Regions from separate parts of the Homo sapiens genome. Here all the other regions are linked to region 3. The links are contacts of gene promoters, found by promoter capture Hi-C in blood cells and fetal thymus (Javierre and others, 2016). All regions are on one chromosome and are shown on one strand. The core of a region is centred on a gene start or on the middle of the fragment in contact, and the rest is flanking DNA. Distances in the headings are between cores, read along the strand shown. Region 1 overlaps SLC39A11 (solute carrier family 39 member 11). Region 2 overlaps SLC39A11 (solute carrier family 39 member 11). Region 3 holds the start of COG1 (component of oligomeric golgi complex 1). Region 4 overlaps SLC39A11 (solute carrier family 39 member 11). Region 5 overlaps SLC39A11 (solute carrier family 39 member 11). Region 6 overlaps SLC39A11 (solute carrier family 39 member 11).

What was found. Contacts are between HindIII fragments. The CHiCAGO score rates a contact against its expected background, and 5 or more counts as called.
Region 1: a contact is called between a fragment that was not itself captured here and the fragment with the promoter of COG1 in region 3, in 1 of 17 cell types (M1 macrophages). The highest score is 5.3, in M1 macrophages.
Region 2: a fragment that was not itself captured here is called in contact with the fragment with the promoter of COG1 in region 3 in 1 of 17 cell types (M0 macrophages); the score reaches 5.2 in M0 macrophages.
Region 4: a fragment that was not itself captured here is called in contact with the fragment with the promoter of COG1 in region 3 in 1 of 17 cell types (megakaryocytes); the score reaches 5.2 in megakaryocytes.
Region 5: a contact is called between a fragment that was not itself captured here and the fragment with the promoter of COG1 in region 3, in 3 of 17 cell types (M1 macrophages, M0 macrophages and M2 macrophages). The highest score is 6.2, in M1 macrophages.
Region 6: a contact is called between a fragment that was not itself captured here and the fragment with the promoter of COG1 in region 3, in 1 of 17 cell types (M1 macrophages). The highest score is 5.9, in M1 macrophages.

What each region holds. Positions count from the first base shown.
Region 1 is chr17:72,881,896-72,886,072 of GRCh38, forward strand. All of the region lies in intron 5 of SLC39A11 (solute carrier family 39 member 11), which reads right to left. Among named protein-coding and RNA genes, the nearest start is that of SLC39A11, 210 kb to the right of the region's middle. The HindIII fragment of the contact is 1,760 bases long and covers 1,595-3,354 here.
Region 2 is chr17:72,747,802-72,751,658 of GRCh38, forward strand. All of the region lies in intron 6 of SLC39A11 (solute carrier family 39 member 11), which reads right to left. Among named protein-coding and RNA genes, the nearest start is that of LINC00511, 110 kb to the left of the region's middle. The HindIII fragment of the contact is 2,059 bases long and covers 1,478-3,536 here.
Region 3 is chr17:73,191,655-73,195,578 of GRCh38, forward strand. It overlaps COG1 (component of oligomeric golgi complex 1), which reads left to right and starts at 1,401. Exons shown (of 14, transcript NM_018714.3): 1 at 1,401-1,730. The coding sequence starts at 1,416. RefSeq lists enhancers at 628-1,387, 673-722, 1,353-1,632 and a silencer at 1,683-1,892. The HindIII fragment of the contact is 5,644 bases long and covers 114-3,924 here.
Region 4 is chr17:72,700,530-72,704,385 of GRCh38, forward strand. The region is part of intron 7 of SLC39A11 (solute carrier family 39 member 11); the gene reads right to left. Among named protein-coding and RNA genes, the nearest start is that of LINC00511, 62 kb to the left of the region's middle. The HindIII fragment of the contact is 7,138 bases long and covers 1-3,856 here.
Region 5 is chr17:72,825,996-72,829,948 of GRCh38, forward strand. All of the region lies in intron 6 of SLC39A11 (solute carrier family 39 member 11), which reads right to left. Among named protein-coding and RNA genes, the nearest start is that of LINC00511, 190 kb to the left of the region's middle. The HindIII fragment of the contact is 3,642 bases long and covers 657-3,953 here.
Region 6 is chr17:72,924,184-72,928,143 of GRCh38, forward strand. The region is part of intron 5 of SLC39A11 (solute carrier family 39 member 11); the gene reads right to left. Among named protein-coding and RNA genes, the nearest start is that of SLC39A11, 170 kb to the right of the region's middle. The HindIII fragment of the contact is 6,640 bases long and covers 1-3,960 here.

The DNA.
Region 1 (4,177 bases), core at 1,225-3,724, 310 kb before region 3:
TCAGTTTTACTAAATATGAAGGTGTTGGCCAGGATTTATTGGTCTGTTTTATTTCTCCATCCCATGACATCTGCTAGAGGTGGTTGTTACTGTTAACAATAATGCTACTAAATTACTTGAGCACTCCAGAATATGACATTCTGGGGAACCAATTAAAACAGATGCTCTTTCGGCCGGGCCGGTGTGGTGGCTCATACCTGTAATCCCAGCACTTTGGAAGGCCAAGGTGGGTGGATCACCAGAGGTCAAGAGTTCAAGACCAGCCTGGCCAACATGTCGAAACCTCATCTCTACTACAAATACAAAAAACTGTAGCCAGGCATGGTGGTGCACGTCTGTAGTCCCAGCCACTCGGGACGCTGACGCAGGAGAATCGCTTGAACCCAAGAGGTGGAGGTTGCAGTGAGCCAAGATCGTGCCACTGTACTCCAGCCTAGATATCAGAATGTACATATTCCTATATCTAAAAAAAAAAAAAAAAAAAATGCTCTTTCAACTTTCTTTAGGAGACACACCACACGCATGCACAATCCAAGACACGGAGAAGAGAAATGCTCAGAAAATCCAAGTACGATGATTAGGAAGCTTTTTCTGAACTCAGCAACTATCACAGAACATTGTTAACTTCCTGGCTCTCTGCAAATTTTCTTTGACTACTTCAGGACCGAATCCAAGAGTTGCAGCCCTACACAGATTGTCTTTAAACCATAGAATTCAGCTGGCCCGCTCTGCTACTTTATTCATTAAAGCCACTCTATGCAACTGTTTAACCTAGTAGTCTTGAGTTTCATCTGGAACTCTAATCATTGGCAAGGAAAGTAACACCTGACTTCAGCAGTATTGGGTCAACTGCTTTTCTCAATTAAACTCACACAACCTGCTTGAGGGAGAGAGAATGCTTCTTTTTTTTTTTTTTTTTGAGATGGAGTCTCACTCTAGCTTCCAGGTTGGAGTGCAATGGCGCGATCTCAGCTCACCGCAACCTCTGTCTCCCAGGTTCAAGCGATTCTCCTGCCTCAGCCTCCCCAGTAGCTGGGATTACAGGTGTGTGCCATGACACCTGGCTAATTTTTGTATTTTTAGTAGAGATGGGGTTTCATCATGTTGGCCAGGCTGGTCTCGAATTCCTGGCCTCAAATGATCCGCCCACCTCGGCCTCCCAATGTGGTTGGATTACAGGCTGAGCCACCGTGCCAGGCCGAGAAAATGCTTTTAGGTGGAATTATCATGAGGGTTCATCACGCAGTCCTGCATCCTTAAGGCATACTGGCCTAACATAAGCATGGGCGCATGTGAGTGGAAAGTGCATAAAACACAGCCAAGTCCATATTCTACGCAGAGCAGGCCTCCTACTGTTAACACATGTGCACTGGAGTCTACCTACCCTCACAGGCCTGGATGTTACTATAGCTCTGTTTTCTCAGTATGCTTCCTCTTCAAATCCTCTGTAACCACAGATGGCTGCTGCCAAAAACCTGGATGAAAATCACAGAGATGACCCAGTGCAGCGCCATCTTTATGACTGAACCAGTTGAGGTACCTCCTGGGTAGTATTTACATGATGCAAAACATGCTCAAGCATCGCCAGTACTGAAGCTTTTCAAGGTTTCATGGTGGCAGAAGCTAGCCAGTTAATTACACGGAATCTGGGAAGGCAGGTTCTAGTCTCTGTTCTCCCGGTGGATTGTGTCTGATTCAGGGTCAGGTGACTACAATTTCTGAGGCTTGACTGAGAAATGACCGAGGAATCCCATTCATTTGTAAGGGAGAAACAGCCAATAAAAATGTATTCTTGTCTCATCAAAAAGACTTGGTCCAGGGGAAAGCCATGAAGATGGCTATTATACACACCTCCATCCCTCCTTATTGTGGAGGGAAGGGGATGCAATCTGTATAATATCATAGTGTGAAAACTGAAGTTGGGCCCAAGTAGGGCCTGGTCTTTAATCCAATTCTGCCCATAGAAAGGAGAATCTGGGCTGGGTGCAGTGGCTCAAGCCTGTAATCCCACCACTTTGGGAGGCTGAGACAGGTGGATTGCTTGAGCTCGGGAGTTCCAGACCAGCCTGGAAAACATGGCAAAACTCTGTCTCTACAAAAAATACAAAAGTTAGCTAGGTATAGTGGCGTGCACCTGTGGTCCCAGCTACTTGGGAGGCTGAAGTGGGAGGATTTCTTGAGCTGGGAGGTCAAAGCTGCAGTGAGCTGTGATCACACCACAAAACTCCAGGCTGGGTGACAGAGTAAGGCTCTGTCTCCAAAAAAAAGAAAGAAAGAAAGAAAGAAACCTTATAAAGGACCACAGTGCCCCTGGGCCTGCTAGGCTGCCCACAGCTTGGCTCACAAAAGCAGCGTTGTCACTGTGGATGGCCTCAGGCCATGTTGGTCTTTGTACTGTTGCCCAGCCATTTGCAGGGCCAGTGCACTATTCTAAATTTCATTTCAAACAATGAATCCTCAGAGCGTTCATCCCTTCCATTCTGTTATCTACTGCAGTGCAAGGCTGTGGCTCAGAAAGTCTTTAGCTTGGAAGACATCTAGCTCCATTAAAACTGCAGCAATTATGACTACCTGGAGGTGAATAATCTCCTCTTGGCTTTATTTAATGTTCAATACAAAGAAACAGTCACCCCATTAAATTTACCTGCGCTGTGTCTCGCTTTGGATTTTTCAGGTAGTCATTGGTTCTAAACTATCATGTTCAGTATCTTAAGGACCAGACTATATTACTATGGTGAGGCAGACTGGCAGGAAAGCTCTGGGATCTATCTTGAACATTAGAGTTTAATAAAAAGGAAGGCATGAGATAAACTGAAAAATATAAAATAGGAAATCGCTGCAGCAGCATTCTGCATTCTTGAATAGAAAGACTGGAAACCTTAAAGCTACTAAGTCTTTTCAAATGGATAGCTTTAACATAATTCCACTCAAAATCACAACAGAATTCTAAAACTGGACAAGGGAACTCTAAAGCTCTTCTGAACAAAGAAAAATGCATAACGAGAGGAACTCATCATTAAATATAAAGTGGTAATATTAAATGAGTCTTTCTTGCAGTAGGATACTTAACTTTCTTCAGATTTATCATCCCTTTAAAAGGCCTGTTTTGACAAAGGGGCTGGAGCACTTGAATGATTTGTGTCTATGTTTCTAGAGTACCATCAAAACACAGCAATTCTTATCCACTTGTGTCAAGGACTTCTGATGATACTTGTAGGTTATCGAAATGGAAGATTTCCTGTGGACTAGGATTTGGATTCTAAAAATCAGCTTATAGGTTTTCCCTGCAGCTCCAGACAGCTATTCCTCAGTTTTTGCCTCCTCTCTATATTGGAATTAAACAGCTTCCTATGAAGCTTGGAACGTCAACGCTTTCTGCATACTCAACTCCAGTTTCATACTTTTGCAAATCAAGCATTGGTTCTGTGCAGCTGAGTCTATTCCAAAGCGAGTAATAATTTGATTAGTAATTTTTTACAACTCTCTAATCCTGTAGGCTACGGGCTCACCTCTTGCAATCACCTAGTTCCCACCTAGACCCATCCTGCATTCACTGAAGATTCCAGCAGCATTATTCAGGTGCCACTATTCATGTAGATAAGCCATCTGCCTCACCTCCAATGAACCTGTCCTGTGCACCATCTCAACCAACTAATCCCAAGGGCACTACTTATCAGATCTACCTCTAAAATCTCAATGGCAGGCATTCCAGGTGTTGAACCACCTGCCTGCTATATTTATTTCCAGCTCCTTTCTTGTGAACGCTGGATCCAGTTCTTTAGTACCACTGGCACCTCTGTGCCATTGGCCCAGCCACCTTTTTACTCCAACCTCCCACCTATGTCCACACTTCCCCCCTCATCAAGCAGTGGCCCTCGCTAGAGCCACCCTCTAGCAAATACCTACACATATGCCTACTTAATGCCGACTCTCCATCTATTCTGCACTTGTCGCCAAAGAGTTGAATGTAATTGGAGAGAAACCTACTGCCATGATGCATCTCCACCATTCTACTGAGACTGCTTTTGTCGGGGTCACCACTGGTGCCCATGTGGCCCAATCCAGTGCTCCCATCTCAGATCTCAGCTTGCTCATCCTTTCAGCATTTCTTTCACATGTCTAGTCAATTCCCCTCTTTTTGAACATCCCTCATTTGGCTTCCAAGAAACCTTTCTCC
Region 2 (3,857 bases), core at 1,257-3,756, 440 kb before region 3:
ACCAAATGTTGGTAGAACCAGCCAGGTATTATTGCCAAGGAATCCCTGTGGAGTCTGTTAGAGGCTGTATAAAGGATGGAAACTTACCAACTTATTTTCTTGAAAAAGTAGTTTGATGCAGTTTTCCAGTGTGGATTACTAATCCTGCTATTTATATTGGAAAAAGATACATGTGGGGAAAGATGAAAAATAGAAGTGTTCTAGAAAAGTTGACTTTAAATCAAATTCTTATCAATAAGGCCAGGTGCAGTGGCTCACGCCTGTAATCCCAGCACTTTGGGAGGCCGAGGCGGGTGGATCACCTGAGGTCAGGAGTTCAAGACTAGCCTGGCCAACATGGGAAAACCCCGTCTCTCCTAAAAATACAAACATTAGCTGGGCGTGGTGGTGGGAGCCTGTAGTCCCAGCTACTTGGGAGGGTTAGGCTGGAGAATCGCTTGAACACGGGAGGTGGAGGTTGCAGTGAGCCGAGATCGCGCCATTGCCCTCCAGCCTGGGCAATAGAGGGAGACTCCATCTCAAAAAAAAAAAATTCTTATCAATAAAGTCACATCCTATTGTTTATTAAGAAATATTGACAATTGAAGATACTCTAACATGAATCCCCTTTGTAACTAAAATAACTACTTCCTAATTAATGTTGACAAGTGTGCTTTTTTGGCATATCCGATTGTTTCACGTTGGGATCCCTCTGAACAGTGACAGACCCAGAAAATGCTATTCTCCAGTCATGGCTGCCGACTTAGAGTTGAGCCTGACTCCAGCAGACTGCGAAGACACAGGCAGCGCCTCGTTTGTATGACTGAAGACAGCCACATCTTCAAACAACAGGTGAAGGCATCTGGTTAAACACCCACATCTCGGAGTCAATTTCAATTTGCTTTAGTTCTCAATAACCAGACAAAGATCAGATCTCTGTGTTTCCTCAGAGAAAAAGGGAGAGAATGCCTATACTGGCATTGAAGATTCCGAGCTGTTCCAACTAACGAGCTCCGTGTCATGCCCAGATGCATGCCTCTAGCCAACTCCCCTGACCTTGCACCATGGTCGTCCACACCTGGGTTTGCCCTGAATCTGAAGAAGTATATCTGCAGGCCCAAGGACAGACCAAGTACGGGAGAGGGGCCAGAAAGGGCACCGCAGTCTACCCTCCGGGCCTCTTTCTGCCGAGCTGAGCACACACAGTTGTTGGTTTTTATTTATTTATTTAATGAATAATTGCTTATAACCAAGGGAGTTGTTAGTTTTGAGGTCAAGGGACTAAGCAGAAGCAAAGAGGCAGGTGAGGTAGGTTCTGACTCAGTGGGGGAACCTGCCGTCAGAAGAGCTGCCATCTTGGAAGACACAAAAACTCAAGATTCCCTCTGCTTTGCCCAGCAGGGAATTATCATGAAATCCCTGTGCCCTTTGAGTGGGGAGGGCTGCTATCTGTTGCTCCCAAACACTCTGTTCCACCAATGAAGCCGTGGTGTAGAAAAGCTTGCAACCCGGTAGCAAAGTTCCTTGACTCTGAAGTCAGAGCCTCATCAATCACCTGGCCACTGGGCTTCCTCTCCCTACGTCCAAAGTCCACGGCAGGCAGGGAAGTGTCTGGATCTGACAGATTCACTGTATGAAAGTGGACAGGCTTATGTTCTGGGGAACCTTGTATATTCACAACAAAGTTGTCTGGGAGGCTTAGAAAGCAGGGACAACCTAAGCAGCTCTGTAAATATGAGGACACAGGACGAAGGAAGCATGAGGCAATGAGTAGTGTGGTCAGACGGGAATTATTTTTCCCAAGACAAGCCTATTTTGTGATAAGTGGGCCCTGGGCAGCAGAGGTGGGCAGGCTCTCTGGTCCCCTTGGGAAACCGGGGCTGCAGATGGAGGCTTTGCTAAGTGCCACCCCACCCTAGACAGTGGGAGCAGTCCCCAGCCCCACACTGCACACCGAAGGCAGGAGGTCTCTAATCACTGGTCACAGGGATCTCTCTGCTTGATCCTAGGAAAATGCTGCCTCTGAGGTGGGTAGACCATTCCAGGAGGAAGAGGGGAAAGCATGGCTGAAAGCACCTCTATGACTCCAGGCTCAGATTCGTAAAACACTAGATGGAAGTCGTACCAGGAATTCAGCCACACATCCCTCCTGGCTGGGAAGGCCTGCAGCTGAGAGCACACGCACAAAGAGACACAGGCTCCATTGGCCCAGCCTCTCACCTGGCTCATGAAAAGATCAATGCCAGGAGTTCTCCACAAAGAGACTGGGGATTCCTGGGGCAAGGCACAAGCCAGATGGGTCGAGGAATCAGGTGAACCTCTGCAGCAGGTGGGTGGCGCCCATTCTGTGCCCCTTGGGAGCCAAGAGAGTCACCCTGGGAATTATCCCACAAGAGGGTCTCACATCCCCAGGAAGTGGATGGCCACTGATCCCTGCTATTCCTCCCCCAAGTTCACATGAAGAGGTCGTGCAGTCTGGGTCCCAGGTTGGACCCGATTGCCTTGTCAAAGGGAAAGGCAGCCTAGGGCCAGATACCTCGGAACCACAACCACATCGCCTGTGATTGGAGCCTCACCCCATCCCACAGGCCGTACATGGGCATCATGAACTCTAGCACACACTTGACTATGGAATACCTCTGGAGGTGGGGTGGGGGGTGGGGAGGACTTATTTATGTTTTTGTAATTTGCATGTTCTTGAGGGCCTAAAAAAACTGGAGGAAAGGATTTTTTTTTTTTAATTCCCTTGGAGGACTTTCGAACAAAATTAGACTCTGGCAGTTCCTTCAGGATGATGAATAACCTAAGATACAGGTTCATTTATCACTCCCCACATGTGATTCCCACCAAAGTATTTCTAAAATCCAGGCAAGAAAAAGATTCTGAAGTCTCAGATCACTAGTATGTTTTGCTACATGGAGGGCAGGCATCATACCACAACGTATGTATCCAAGGGAGGGAGGGGCATTTTTTCCTACAAGCAGAAGTATTTCAATTGTTAATGGAGGAAAAAAAAAAACTGCCTTCCTTACACATCCCAGTTCAGCAATTGTCAGGCTTCAGGTGTCAGACGGCAGCCTGTCAGCGCCCTGGGATAGGCCCCGTGTGGTCATGGCCTTGTTGGTCATGCCAAGATGATGTCTGAGAAGCTGGCATTATGGCTTAGCTCAAAGAGAAGGCAGGAGGCTGTGCATGGTGGCTCACACCTATAATCCCAGCACTTTGGGAGGCCAAGGCGGGAGGATCACCTGAGGTCAGGAGTTCAAGATCAGCCTGGCCAACATGGCAAAAACCCCGCCTCTACTAAAAATACAAAAATTAGACGAGCGTGGTGGTGGGCGCTTGTAATCCCAGCTATTTGGGAGGCTGAGGAATGAGAATCACTTGAGCCCAGAAGGCAGAGGCTGCAGTGAGCCAAGATCACACCACTGTACTCCAGCCTGGGCGACAGAGTGAGACTCCATCTCAAAACAAAAAAGTGAGCGTACAATATTGGTGTGCTAACATATGATTATATAATCAGGTTGCTATATGAAGGTAAGGAAAAACAATCCTAAAGCTTCAAACTCTTCCCATTTGAAGAAGACAGTTCTAAGAATCGTGGCCCCCATCCTCTCATCGTCTAGGTTTTAATTAGGTTCTTTCCTTCCTTCCTCCCTTTCTTATTACCATTTTTAATTGTGATAAAATGTGAATGAATAACATGTAATTGAGCATCTTCCTCATTTTTAAGTGTACATTCATTGGCATTAAGTGCAATCACTTTTGTACAGCCATCGCCACCACCCATCTCCAGAGCTCTTTGGTTTTTTTTTGAGACAGAGTCTTGCTCCGTCGCCCAGGCTGGAGTGCAATGGCATGATCTCAGCTCACTGCAA
Region 3 (3,924 bases), core at 151-2,650:
TCTGTGGGAAATTATGTGAAAACGTAGAAAAGAGCGCGAGCCAGTAATTTAAAAATCGACGTCCAAATACTCACTGGGTCACCTATCAGCTATGTAATTTGGGCAGGTAAATAAGCTTTTGTTTCTTTTTTTTTTTTCCTCATAAATGGACTAGGAATATTACTCCTACCTACCTGGCATGGCCGATGTGCGAGAAAATGAGATAATCTCGTGGACAGGCTCTGAAAACTGCACTTTTACTGAGTAAAAAACCCTTTGCCTCTCCGGGCCCCCGTTTCCCCATCTGTAAAATGAGTCTGTAAAGTGAGAATGATACTCCCTACGCCGCAAGGCTCTTGCGGGTTAAACTGGAATATTATAAATGCACCATTTATTTGCAGATTGAAATTCTGTGCGTCCGGAGGTGGCGGGTGGGAGAGGGAATGAGCAGGGATGCAGGGTAGGCCCTGAGTTGCTGGGGGCTCAGCATGGCCGCTGCGCACATTGCATCATTTTGTCGACACTGGTGTGGGTGAAATCTTCCAAAAGAAATTAAAACAGAAAAAAAAAAAAAGAAGGGTCTGGGACTTAGCAGAAACAAGCCACAATCTCCAGATTCTACTATTCCTGGGCCACGTGAGGAGCGCCCACCCGTCTGGCGCTGCGTTCCCCGGGGCGTCCCAGCCTCTCCCGCCCAGCCCGCCGCCCTCCTCCCCCATGGCCACCAAGGTCAGGCTCTCGCAGGGAAAACGTCTTCAGGGGCTAAACATCGGTTTTAAACGAAATGGAAAACCTCCAACACGAATCAACAGCAGAGGAAAAGCAGACGCCAAACAAGCGCTCAGAACCCCTTCAGGGGCGGCGTGGTAGCTCTTCCCGGGGAACAGCGAGGGGCGCGGATGTCCCTCTTCCTAAAACTGCACGCGGGGTGCGATCCGAGACCCAGCGGCGGCGAGCGCGCCCGAGTCTGCTCGCGGGCGCCAGGCGCGCGGAGAGCGGCGGCTGCGCCTGCGCCAACGCCGTCAGTCCGCGGGGCCCGATCCCGACACCTAACTCCACAGAGAAGCTCTGCTCCTAAGGGAAAGGGAAGACTTCAGCCACAGTTTCGCAGCCAACCTGGCGACCTCACCTCTCTGGCGACCTCACTTCCCAGCCGGCTCCGTTTAAGAAAACCCCGCGCAGGACCGCGCCCGCCCCCGCGCCCGCGCCCGCCCCCGCCCCCTCGCGCCCGCCCCCTCGCGCCCGCCCCCTCGCGCCCGCCCCCTCGCGCCCGCCCCCTCGCGCCCGCCCCCTCGCGCCCGCCCCCTCGCGCCCGCCCCCTCGGGTAACAAACATGGCCCCCGGCGGGGCGGAAGCGCTTCCGCCCCCAACGAAGATGGCGGAGGGGGCGGGACTAAAAGGGCGTAGGTAGATCGCCGGGGGCTGACGAGTGCACCATGGCCACCGCGGCAACCTCACCCGCGCTGAAGCGGCTGGATCTGCGCGACCCTGCGGCTCTTTTCGAGACGCATGGAGCGGAGGAGATCCGCGGGCTGGAGCGCCAGGTTCGGGCCGAGATCGAGCACAAGAAGGAGGAGCTGCGGCAGATGGTGGGCGAACGGTACCGCGACCTGATCGAGGCGGCCGACACCATCGGCCAGATGCGCCGCTGCGCCGTGGGGCTAGTGGACGCCGTGAAGGCCACCGACCAGTACTGCGCCCGCCTCCGCCAGGCCGGCTCGGCCGCGCCCCGGCCACCGCGGGCCCAGCAGGTCAGTCCCCGTGCCCCCACCCTGCGACCCGCAGGCGGGTCCCGGAGCCCCTGGCCTTGCAGGTCAACCCCGCCCCCCTCTGTCAGTCCCAGACCCCGCGAGTCCTCACCTTCCTTAGCCAGGAGCCTATCCGCCCCTCACCCTTTGGGCCCCCCTCAGAGGACAGTGCCAGCCTTCCTTGCACATATGCGGCTGCTGATCCGTTCTGGAAATGCCATTCAACAGTTTCTTCAGGCGCTTTCCCCCGACTTCCGGGCCTTGATTCCTACACCTCACTGGGCTCCTTTCAATTTTAGCGGAAAACGCCAGGAGTTTCTGTCTTGACAGTTCAACGCTCACCTATATAACATGTCCTGACATTGTTTTTCCTCAGGTTTCTCCCCTATGTTGACACCTGCACTCCAAGTCATTTCTTCCTCATCCCAACCTTCCCCTTATCTCCCCAAGAATAACTTCCACAACCCCAAATAGCTGTTCTACCCTTTGGGAGTTGTTGAGGGTACCAGCTATCAAGCCCTTAACTTTATGTATGTATGTGACAGGGTCTCCCAAAGTGCTGGGATTACAGTCATGAGCCACCACAGCCGGCCAAGCCCTTACCTTTTAATAGCTGAACATTTTCATTTTCAGAACTAAGGCTTTTTTCATTCAGGTTCTCCTTATCCCGTGTTCTTCCCCCCAAACGCTATTGATTAGACACAATGAGGAAGGATGGGAGGTAAACAAACACATCCTCATATTGGAGCTGCAGCTTGCGTTCCTAAAGAATTTTTATTGGCCGGGTGCGGTGGCTCACGCCTGTAATCCCAGCACTTTGGGAGGCCGAGGCGGGTGGATCACGAGGTCAGGAGATCCAGACCATCCTGGCTAACACGGTGAAACCCCGTCTCTACTAAAAATACACAAAATTAGCCAGGCGTGGTGGCCGGCGCCTGTAGTCCCAGCTACCTGGGAGGCTGAGGCAGGAGAATGGCATGAACCCGGGAGGCGGAGCTTGCAGTGAGCCGAGATCGCGCCACTGCACTCCAGCCTGGGCCACAGAGCGAGACTCTGTCTCAAAAAAAAAAAAAAAAAGAATTTTTATTTCTTTATTTTTTGAGACAGGATCTCGCTCTGTCACCCAGGCTGGAGTGCAGTGGCGCGATCTCGGCTCACTGCAACCTCCGCCTCCCGGGTTCAAGCGATTCTCCTGCCTCAGCCACCCGCGTAGCTGGGATTACAGGCACCTGCCACCATGTCCGACTAATTTTTGTACTTTCAGTAGAGACGGGGTTTCACCATATTGGCCCGGCTGGTCTCCAACCCCTGACCTCATGTGATCTGCCTGCCTTGGCCTCCCAAAGTGATGGGATTACAGGCGCGAGAGCCACCGCGCACGGCCCCTTAAAGAATATAGACCTAGCAATGAACGAAGTGAAAGGGCATGAAGGGTGAAAAAGGTAAACAGTTAGTTGTTTTTAACAGCCTGGGAGAACTTACTGGGACATAGAAGAAAAAATTGAAAAGTACAGTCTAACTCCAATTTGGAACTTGTTCATGCTATCTGAGCTTTACAGAAATCCTGGTCAGTAGACTGGACTGACACAATAAAACTATAGGAAGTTGCAAATAAGTTTGCATATTTTTGAAATGAGTGACCTCATCCCTCCCAAAGCTAACATTTAGTACACGTGTCCCCTTAGGTGGCCAGCCTTTGCTGTAACTGAGTCATGCTTCAGGGTTTATTAAAACGCTAACTTGAATTATGCCTGATTTTAGAAACGTATTGATTTTCATAGTTGTTATATCTGGTTTATTCTCGGTTAACCCTACAAAAATTTGAGTGTCTTCTTCGTTCACATTACAAAGAAACAGAAGTCCCCCAATTCCTGCTCTGAAGGAGCTTACAACCTGGTCGAGGAAATAAATCCATGGAAACTTGACGAGAAAAAAATGTAAAAAAATTTAGAATAACAGGTCAGGCGCTGTGGCTCATGCCAGCACTTTGGGAGGCCAAGGCAGGTGGATTGCTTGATCACAGGAGTTTGAAACCAACCTGGGCAACACGGTGAAACACCATCTCTACAAAAAATACCAAAAAGTGAGCGGGCATGGTGGCACATGCCTGTGGTCCCAGCTACTTGGAAGGCTGAAGTGGGAAGATCTCTTGAGCCCAAGAGGTCAAGGCTGCAGTGAGCCATGATCGCACCACTGC
Region 4 (3,856 bases), core at 1,181-3,680, 490 kb before region 3:
GAATGCACAGCCCTGCCCCCAGGGTCCCCAGGCCTTAATGAAGGAGACAGAACAAGCAATCCAAGGCAAGGGCAAGAAAGGGGTAAGACAGAGGTGGGGCTGTGTATTAGTCCGTTTTCACGCTGTTCATAAAGACATACCCAAGACTGGGCAATGTACAAAAGAAAGAGATTTAATGGACTCACAATTCCACGTGGATGGGGAGGCCTCACAGTCATGGCAGAAGGTGAAAGGCACATCTCACATGGCGGCAGACAAGAGAAGAGTGACAGCCAAGCGAAACGGGTTTCCCCTTATAAAACCATCAGATCTCCTGAGACTTATCCACTACCATGAGAACAGCATATGGGAAACCACCCCCATGATTCAATTATCTCCCACTGGGCCCCTCCCACAACATAAGGGAATTAGGGGAGCTACAATTCAAGATGAGATTTGGGTGGGAACATAGCCAAGCCATATCAGGCTGACACACGTGGTACACGTGGGCCCTGCACAACCTGCAGCCTGAAGCTCCACCAAGCTCAGATGGGACGACGTGCTTGGGGGCCACATTCACCTTCCATCACATTCCATCCCAGTGGCAGAGCTGGGAAACTTTGGAAGAACTGGTCTCATTTTGCAGTTCTCACCCAGATGTTTGGCATGGTTTTGGCACTGCCAACAATGCCTTCCAGGAGGTTAAAGACCTGGAATTTCGCCTGAAGAGAGGGAGGTGTGGAGGAAGCTGATCAAGCCTCAGAAGTGGGGATCTATGGAGGACAAAAACTAGCTCCGCTCTCCACTGAGGAGGGCACACAAGGACGTGGTGTTGAGGGACCATCTCCTTGTGTGGCGATGCTAAGCAGGAAGGCTGTGGGGCCAGAAAGAGCTCTTTCAAGAGATAGTGAGTGATGCAGTTTAAAGAACAGAGACCTGGCTAGGCATGGTAGCTCATGTCTGTAATCCCAGCACTTTGGGAGGCCGAAGTGGGCAGATACCTGAGGTCAGGAGTTCGAGACCAGCCTGGCCAACATGGTGAAACCCTGTCTCTACTAAAAATACAAAAATTAGCCAGGTGTGGTGGTGCATGCCTGTAGTCCCAGCTACTGGGGAGGCTGAAGCACAAGAATTGCTTGAACCTGGGAGGCGGAGGTTGCAGGGAGCCGAGGTTGTACCACTGTACTCCAGCCTGGGAGACAGAGGGAGATTCTGTCTCAAAAAAAAAAAAAAAAAAAGAAAAAGAGAAAGAAAGAAAGAGAAAGAAAAGGAAGGAAGGAAGGAAAAGAAAAAAAAAAAGAACATAGACACGCAGAGTGTGGTGGCTCACGCCTGTAATCTCAGCACTGTGGGAAGCTGAGGTGGAAGGACTGTTTGAGCCCAGAAGTTAAGTTTGAGACCAGCCTGGGTGATATAAAGAGACCCCATCTCTATAGAATGTTTAAAAATTAGCCAGCTGTGGTGGTGCCTGCCTGTAGTCCTGGCTACTCAGGAGGCTGAGGTGGGAAGATTGCCTGAGCCTGGGAGATGGAGGCTGCAGTGAGCTGTGATCACACCACTGCACTCCAGCCTAGGTAATGGAGTGAGACTCTGTCTCCATAAAATAAAATAAAAAAGAACATAGACATTTCTCAGGGTGGACAGATCACTAACCTTGGATATACCAATCCACATGCTCTCATAAACTCGCAAGCTAACCCTATCTTCCTGTGTTCTACTGAGTCCAAAGATAGGAGGCTACTGTTTTTTTCTTTAGGCAGCACCTAGCACAGTGGCTGGCACATAGTAGGCCTTCAAGTGCTTGAAGCATGTACTACCTAGGGTGGTGGTCTCAACCAGGCCAATTTGGACCCCTAGGGAACAGTGGGCAATGTCTGCAGACATTTTTGGTTGTCACAACTAGGGGGAAGGCATCTAGTGGGAAGAGGCTAATGCACAGGGCACCCCCCGCCTACAACAAAGAATTATCTACCAGATGATCAACAGTGCCAAGTTCTAGAGACCGACGGTCTTCCACTCTACCAAATGAGTCATCAAAGTACACGACAGTGCCAAGTTCTAGCAGTCATATTTGCACAAAAGCAGGAAGGGTCCATGGGAGAGTATGGGAATTCCTCTTTTCCAGGGAATTTTAAGAGTGGATTCCAGCCAGGCATGGTGGCTCACAAATGTAATCCCAACACTTTGGGAGGCTGAGGCGGGTGGATCACTTGAGGTCAGGAGTTCCAGACCAGCTTGGCCAACACGGTGAAACTCCGTCTCTACTAAAAATACAAAAATTAGCCAGGTGTGGTGGTGCATGCCTGTAATTCCAGCTACTCAGGAGGCTGAGGCAGGAGAATCGCTTGAACCCTGGAGGTGGAGGTTGCAGTGAGCCAAGATCACGCCACTGCACTCCAGCCTGGGTGACAGAGTGAGACTCCATCTCACCAAAAAAAAAAAAAAATGGAAGAAAGGAAAAAAAAAATTGATTCCCTCTGTCTTTGTGGGGTTGGGAGTCAGAAAGAAAGAAGACATAAATGGGCTGCCTGATCTCCTAAGCTCCCTTACCGCCCCATCACCAGACACCAGAGCTGTCGGTTGGCAGGTCTTCATCTGTCTGCCTCTTCCTCCCACTTGGGTTTATTTTATAGGCTTTTCCTGAGATATTAGGGGGTTTCCATCAGGAGTGGATCCCTTCCAAACCACAAGGCAATGAAAAGTCCTGCATGTGGGACTGATGTGCTGGTGTGTATGTGCTTTAGGAGCGAGAAAGACAGCAACATAAACCCTGTGCATCAAAGCCAAATCCCTCTACACTCAAGTTCCAACTTGCAGAAATTTTTATAGCCAAGTAATGATATGCAAAGCTGATGGCCTTTTAATTATAGCAGTTCCGTGTGGGGAGAAATAGGAGAACTATTATAATAAGGAGACACAGTAAGCAAAAGAACACCTTTGAATGGGCATTTTCTTGCTGGGGTAAAGGTAACATGGGGGGTTGGGGGGCGATACCCCACAGGGTTCCAAGCATGTCACCCACATTCTTTGTCTTGACAATATGCCCGTGAAACACACAGAGTAAGGTTTCCTGCCCCCACTTTTCTGATGATCTGTTTCTCCATGGCCAAACTGAAGTCCAGACAGATTCAGTCCTTAAATCCATTTTGGAAAACTGTTAACATCCATGGCCAACCAAGATCAACTCAGAGTTTTCAGAAACCAAGAACCTGAATGAACATAGGAGATGTTTAGCTATCTTCTATCTCAGTGTCTCTTTGGGAGAGGCTTAGAAATTAATTTCTCTGTTTGATGATCCCTAAACAGAGGAACCCACCTCAAAATAAGACAAACTGTTGGCCGGGGGTGGTGGCTCATGCCTGTAATCCCAGCACTTCGGGAGGCCGAGGTGGGTGAATCCTTTGAAGCCAGGAGTTCAAGACCAGCCTGGCCAACATGGTGAAACCCCATCTCTACTAAAAATACAAAAATTAGCCGGGCATGGTGGCATGCGCCTGTAGTCTCAGCTACTTGGGAGGCTGAGCCATGAGAACCACTCGAACCTGGGAGGTGGAGGTTGCAGTGAGCTGCGATCATGCCACTGTACTCTAGCCTGGACGACGGAGTGAGACTCTTTCCAAAACAACAACAACTATTATTTTTACCAGAGCATACCTGCTATTTGCCCAAACACTGTATGGAGCATTTTAGACATATCAACTTGCTAGTTCATGTAATCTTCTTATGGGAGATAAACTATTATCATCCCTCACTGACAGATGAGGAAACCAAGGTACAGAGATCTCGATTCACTTGTTCAAGACTATGTAGCTAGTAAATCGCAGCACCTCGATTTGGACCTAGGAAGTCTGACTTCAGGGTCCTTGCTCTAATGTGG
Region 5 (3,953 bases), core at 1,228-3,727, 360 kb before region 3:
GAAGGCATAATTGTATTTTAAAATGTGAGAAGGACATGAGATTTGGGAGGGGCCAGGGATGGAATGATATGGTTTGGATTTGTGTCCCCACCCAAATCCCATATCAAACTGTAATCCCCAGTGTTGGAGGAAAGGCCTGGTGAGAGGTGACTGGATCACGAGGGTGGACTTCCCCCTTGCTGTTATCATGATAGTGAATATGTTCTCATGAGACCTGGTTGTTTAAAAGTGTGTAGCACCTCCCCCTTCACTCTCTTCCTCTTTCTCTGGCCATGTAAGATGTGCCTCCTTCCTCTTCACCTTCCACCATGATTTTAAGTTTTCTGAGGCTTCCTCAGCCATGATTCCTGTACAGCCTGTGGAACTGTGAGCCAATTAAACCTCTTTTCCTTATAAATTACCCGGTCTCAGGTAGTTCTTTACAGCAATGTGAGAATGGACTAATACAGCTGGATTTCCTTTAGGGAAGGGCTTATTAAAACCTGATTTTTTCTAAGCTAATTGGAACTATACTTTCTTTCAGAACAAGGGAGAGACCCTTTAGAAAAGGGTTAAAATCAGGAGTCTGTAGATCCAGGCTGTTTATAAACTTCCTGACATTTTATATAATATATCATAATTATGCATATCACAGGAAGTTAGAGAAAGATTCCTTAAGCTTGATTGGATATACATGGCGATCGTAACCCCCAAAGTAAGAACTACTATTGTGGACACTTAACTTACAACAAGGTATGATAAACACGTGAAGAATGCTCACTGCTATTAGTCATCAGGGAAATGCAAATCAAAACCACAAAGAACTACCACTTACAACCACTAGGATGGCTATAATAAAAAAAAGCAGATAATAACAAGTGTTGGTGAAGATGTAGAGAAACGGAACCCTCCTATATTGCTGATAGGAATGAAAAATGGTGCATCACTTTGGAAAACAGTCTTACATTTTCCTCAAAAGGGCAAATATGGAGTTACCAAATGACCCAGCAATTCCACTACTAAGTTTAGACCCAAGAGAAATGAAAATGCCGTTATACAAAAACTTGTACATGAAAGTACAGAGCAGCACTATTCATAATAGTCCAACAGTAGATATAACCCAAATGCTTATTAACTGATGAATGGATGAACAAAATGTGGTATAGACATATAATGGAATATTATTTGACAACAAAAGGAAATGAAATACTGATACATGGATGAATTTTAAAAACACTGTGCTAATTAAAAGCAGTCAGATACAACAGGCCACATACTATATGATTTCATTTATATGAAATGTTCAGAATAGCCAAATTCATAGAGACAAAAGTAGATGAGTGGTTGCCTAGGGTTTGTGGGGGAGGAGCTGGAGGGAAATGGAGGATAATTGCTAATGGGTAGGGGTTTCTTCTGGGGTAATGAAAATGTTCTAAAATTTATAGTGGTGGTTGCACAATTTTGTGAATATTCTAAAAATCATTAAACTGTACACTTCAAATGGGTGAATTGTAGGCTGTGTGAGTTACATTTTGATAAAGCTGTTATTAAAAGAAAAAAGAAAAGAATATGTGAGCCTATTCTCCATCTAAGTGGCCCACTCCTCTACCCCAGGTGGGGAGACACCAGGAAGGCTTTGGGAAGGGACCAACAGGGGTGCATGGAAAACATGAGTTTGATATGAAGGAAAAATGCTATTGCCTTCAGCCATCTCATTCTCACCCTTGGATACAGATCCCTCAACCAGGGAAGGAATAACTGTCTTTAAATGCACTGAAGAGGAGGTTCCCATGGAGACTGGGGAAGTTAGCATAAGACTATCTTCCATGATGATGAGGAAAGACTGAATACACTGTAGCACAGGCACTCGCAGACAGACCCCTGGCCAGGTTACTGTGGGACAGGTGCCCAAGTCCATAGAAGAGAGAACTGTAATAAAGCAAGAGGGAAATACAGTTTCTTTCCCAATCAGGCAGATCCACGGCAATGCTGCTTTGAGGCTTCACGTGGGCAAGGAAGACACACTGGGCAGTGATACATGGATTTCTGCTAGCTGCTAAAGTGGTCCCATCCACTCAGGTCTCTGATAGTGGTCCTCTGGCCACAACTGTGCCAAAATAAAATAATACATGCTATGGTAGGAAATTAATGACCTCCTAAAATGTCTATGTCCTAATCTCGAGAATCTGAATATGCCGTGTGGCATGGCAGGGAAAACTGGGGCTGCAGAAGGCACTAAGGTGGCTAACCAGCTGACCCTGAGAGGAGTTATCCTGGATTATCTGGAGGATCCCACTGTAATCATAAGGGTCCTTAAAATGAAAAGGAAGGTAGGAGAGTTAGCAATAGAGTAATGCAATGCAAGAAAGATTCAACTGGGCATTGCAGGGGAAAAGGGGACCATGAGCCAGGAAAGGCAGGCAGCCATGGGAAGTCGGAAAAGGCGAAGAAATTGATTCTCTCCTAGAGCTTCCAGAAAGCATGGCCACAGTAGGAGTGAAATGGAGGCACAGAGAGGGGTATTTGTCTCAAGCACACAGCTATTAAGTGGAGGGGCCACTGGGATTTGAACTTAGATCAATAGACCCCAGAGCCTGTGTGCTTAACTAAGGACCCTAAAAGACTATTCCAGCCTGGTGAGCTGAGTTCCTGTTTGAGAGGAGTCTCCGCAGCCTGAGTCTGGGGGGTTTTCGCACCTGTGGGCCATGGGTGCCCCCGGGGAGGTGGACACGCTGCAAGGTGGAGGTTGTGTGCCACGTTTCCAGGACACCATATGGCCCCACCCTGGTCCAGGTGCTGCTGGAGCAGGACCTGTGCTGTCACTGCTCTCTGACACCGCTCCACTGTCTCCTCCAAAGGCTCCCACCCTGGTGGGCTCTGCACCCACAGATTTGATGAAACTCACAGGAGTCAAGCATCGGAGAGTAGTGACTGGGGGTTGTGTGTGGGGAGATTAAAGACATTTATATTTTTCTTTCTCACGTAAGATGAAGACTGGCGTGAAAGCACATTTCTATTTTCAAAAGTTAGGTTTGGTAACACAGTGCAGAGCAGATGGATGAGGAGAAAACGAAGCAACAAAAAAAATGGGCCTCAGCCAGGTGCGGCGGCTCACACCTGTAATCCCAGCACTTTGAGAGGCCGAGGTGGGAGGATCACTTGAGCACAAGAGTTTGACACCAGCCTGGGCAACATGGCAAAACCCTGTCTCCACACAACAAATGAATGAAATGGTTTGCTGGGCACACCTGTGGTCCCAGCTACTCAGGAAGCTGAGGCAGCAGGAGGATCACTTGGGCCCAGGAGGTGGAGGTTGCAGTGAGCCATGATTGCCTCACTGCAGTCCAGCTGGGAGACAGAGCGAGCCTCTGTCTCAAAAAAAAAAAAAGGCCCCCTCACAAAGCAGTGGGGCTGGAAAAGGGAGATGGGAACTAGAGGTGGGGGAGATGGGAGCCGGTGATCAGTGGGATTTGGTGACCAACTAGCTATGGAGAATGAGGGACAGGGAAGAGCTAAGACAACTATGGGCCTTCCAGCTCAAGGGCAGCTGGGCAGAAGTTCAGGACTTTAACTTAGAGGCAGAGGGAAAGGGAGGATGCTGAGAAGAAAACAAACATGCCGAATTAGGGCAGACATGCTCAAAGGGCCAACCAAAGTACATGTCTGGGATTCCGGACAGATCCGGGTCCCTCCTCTCTTCCCCCTTTCCATCTGTTAAAATCCCTTGTCTCTTCTACTGTATAAACCACCCTGGTGTCCCCATCCTCATGGGCCCCCATGGCACTCACACCCCTACCCAGTTAATGTCCCCTCCTGTCTGCTCCTGATGCAGTTTTCTCCACGTCACTAGTGTAGCCACCTTGTTCCCCTCAAAGGTGTGTTTTGAGCCCCCCACTCAGCTGAAATGCCCCCGGACTCAGTAAAGGAACAGAACTGAGTGTGTTCAGGAAGTTGACCTAGGGGAGGAGGGGATC
Region 6 (3,960 bases), core at 1,387-3,886, 270 kb before region 3:
AAGATGATTAAGACCTAGCCTCAGGACACAGACAAAACTAAGGGCACGTTAAAGTCTCTAAAGGAATTAAGACACCCCCACCTCGCCCTACCCTAACCCTAGTAAATCCTTTTAGTTGAGCAAAATTGCTACAGGAAAAGTGATTAGTGACATGGTCTCACAGAAACCTGATAAGCTCAAAGTGGCCTGTAATTAAATCCAGAAGGAGAGATATGTCTGGTAAATAGTTACCTCAAAAGAGGTGTAGGTGTGGCTACTGGCCCAGGGAGTAACTAAAATCAAATGGAAATAAAAATTGATCATTGTTTAGCATGAATGATATCCCCAAAAGAGACACCAGCCTGGTCTAAAAGAGACTGTGACCACAGGGGACCTAAAACAACTTTTGGCACCCCAAATTGCTATAAGCAGGAAGTAGCCTGAGAAAGCTACCAAGTCCCCAATGAAGATATATTCTCTAATACTTTTTCAGGTGTGTCCGAACAGGATGATCAAAAAGGAAAAATCTCCCAGAGGGAGAAGTCAAAAGTCAGAGAGAGGCCAGGCACGGTGGCTCACACCTGTAATCCCAGCACCTTGGGAGGCCAAGGCGGGTGGATCACGAGGTCAGGAGTTCGAGACCAGCCTGGCCAACATAGTGAAACCCCGTCTCTACTACAAATACAAAAATTAGCCAGGCATGGTGGCGTGCACCTGTAGTCCCAGCTGCTCGGGAGGCTGAGGCCAGAGAAACACTTGAACCTGGGAGTCAGAGGTTGCAGTGAGCCGAGATTGTGCCACTGCACTCCAGCCTGGGTGACAGAGTGAGACTCCATTTCAAAAAAAAAAAAAAAAAAAAGCCATAGAGAACAATGGATTTGAGAGCTTCTCATTTGAGGAGAATTCCCTATCCCAAGGCAGGTGGGCCTCTCATGCTGTCCAGTGGAATTTCAGGATGGCCATGTGGATGCGCTTCTTTCTCTTTTGAAATACAAGTGCTCACTGGGGTTGGCCTATTCCTGTTCTTCCACGACGGACATGTGGACCAGGTCACTTATTTTGGTTCACAGCTCTCTAGATGAACAGCAACTAAATCCAGACCTGCTGATAGAATCTCATGAGATCCTGAAATTCACACCTGATTCCATGATTACATGCGAATTTTTAGGTATCTTCCATGAGTCAGAAATGAATTTATGTCGTATATAAATATACAAAATGATATATAAGATGATTATTTATGACCAGGAGGGAAGACTGTAGCAGACTGTATTATACAGTCATCCCTTGGTATCCGTAGGGATACCTCCTCCCTCCCACAGATACCAAGATCTGCTGATCAAGTCCCTTGAGCCAGCTCTTCATATCTGTGTGTTCCTCACCACGGATGCAGAAGGCCTACTCTATTCACAATTATTCATGTCTCCCTCCCCTTAGTAGATGTTTATGTCCCCACCTGGAATTGCAGTACCTGCCTATTGGCCAAGCATACTTCCCTGTACAATGTCAGACTTTGCCATATGATTTGTTAAGCAACAGAATGTGAATGGATGTGAACACTCCACATCCAAGCAGAATTCTTCAAGGACGTCATGAGTTTCCACCAATTCTCTAATTCTTCCCCTCCACCATGACATTGCACATGGCCACAGGGGCTGCTGTTTCAGCCTGGAATCCAGAAGGAGAAAACAATGTGACAGAGATACAGCCAACCTGCAGCCTGCATGTTATTTGGAAGCAAAATAAACCTTCAGGATGGCAAACCACTGAGATTTGAGGTTTCCTTGCTGTGAGGCAAAGCTGACTTAAGCAGCCTGTTCCACCCAGACAACTGAAATCAATGCTTAAACTCTTAGCAATACACAATCTAATGCAAGGAATATGCCTGGGGTCCCATGTGAGCCCTCAGGCTTTTAAATCCTCATCTTTCCTGGGAAGGAGACATAGAGCTCAATTGGTTCCATATAAATGCTTCTTCAACTTTTGAGTAAATTCCATCATCTTTGTGAGCCATCTAACAGTGAAAGTATTAACAATGAAATTTTAAAAAATCAAATCATAATTTCCTTTTAACCAGCCATGCTTTGAATGACAAATATGTAGAGAGTGAGTTTGTTCTCATCTCTCTTCTCACTGCATTCTTACTGTAGCCTCTCACCTAACCTTGTTGGCTCCAGAGACCAAAAGAAAGTCAGCTAAAGCCACAAAGGCCAAATGGACATGAGAAAATGTCTGAAAATGCAATATCAGGGATTGTGTTTGTCTTGTGAAGTCCTTTTTGCCCCTCAGGGAAAAATGACTGGAGGCTCCTCTGACTTCGGAGTAATTGCTTTGAATGTTTTGGGGGAAGATATTTTTTCTGGGGATGTTGCTGTTGTTGCTAAAATGATGTCCATCCAGAAAAACATAAGATTGCCTTTGTTTTTAAACTTGATTATAAACCAGCCCTGAGAAGCCTTCTAAGAGACTTCCATAAGTCTTTTGAATAATGCCATCATTCCAAGTTGACCATTTCCAGGGAGCCCAATCTCGTTTGCCAGATGAGTTCTGCCGTGTTTGTTCACATACCAGCTTTATTACGTTTTAATTAGTTGTTATCTTTGACCCCAAAAAGGGATTCCCGAGCACCTCAGAATGGAGCTCACAGGCACTGGTAGGCCTTAGTGGCCCTTTCTGCTCCTGACCCCAGGGGGACACCTGGGGATCAAGCTGAGGTGAGAAGCAGACTCAAAGTCTTCTGTTCACAGATAAATGCCCCACGTGACCTTGCACGGGAATTACTGAATAAAAGAGACCACTACCCTGATTTGAACAGCACCAGACACAGAGCTGTGAAAGAAAATGCCTCTTACAGATGACAATGTCCGGTTGCCCAGTCCTGGATTTGTTTTATTTATTTACTGAGACAGAGTCTCCCTCTGTCGCCCAGGCTGGAGTGCAGTGGTGTGATCTTAGCTCACAGCAACCTCCACCTCCTGGGTGCAAGCAGTTCTCCTGCCTCAGCCTCCCGAGTAGGTGGGACTACAGGCGCACACCACCATGCCCAGCTAACTTTTATTTTTATTTTTGGTAGAGATAAAAAAAAAATGGGGTTTCGCCATGTTGGCCAGGCTGCTCTTGAATTCCTCCTCTCAAGTGATCCACGCACCTTGGCCTCCCAAAGTGCTGGGATTACAGGCATGAGTCACTGCGCCCAGTCCCAGCCCTGGATTTGAACCAGTGTTCACTGAAGCATTTCCAAGCCTGTTGTTGTGCCTTCAGGTATATGAAATTCAACACATATTCTAAAAAGGACCTTGCCAATGTTCAGTAGAATGGAAGGCCATCCCATGAGTTTCAGAAACACTGATGCTGCTTTAAAACAAAAAACTCCCGGTGATTATAAGGCTTACCTGGAGTATCTCAAATATTTCAGTAGCGAAAATTCAAAGACAAGGACCAGCAGGAATGCCAATTCCATGTTGCAATCACGCCTCCCCACCCACAAGCATGTTATTAGTGTGTGCTTCCAATGCATAATTACCTTTCATTTTCCCATAGAATTTCAGGAAAAAAGAGCACAGGGCTCAGATGGTTTGTGAAATCAATAGGTGATTTCATCTCTTACATGCAAAAATAATCAGTTCTATTGAGAAGGAAATGTATACACACACACACACATACACACACACACTACACACACACACACTGGAAAGCCCACATTCAACAGTCAAGGTCACACACACAGGAAATATTCATGAAAAGGGAACATTTGTAGTATCATCCTGAGCCATATAGCACAGTCCAAAGTACATGGGTTAATAAAGGGTTAATAAAGGAAGAAACCATCTCACTCTCAATAAGGCTGAATTTGATGTGCTCAAATAACACTGATTGCTCCAAAAAAAAAGATAAAATTCCTACAAAGAGGAGGATCCCAGGCCTAACGATTGGATTCTTTTCTAGACAACTGTAACCACCCTCTGGACACTATAAAAGAAA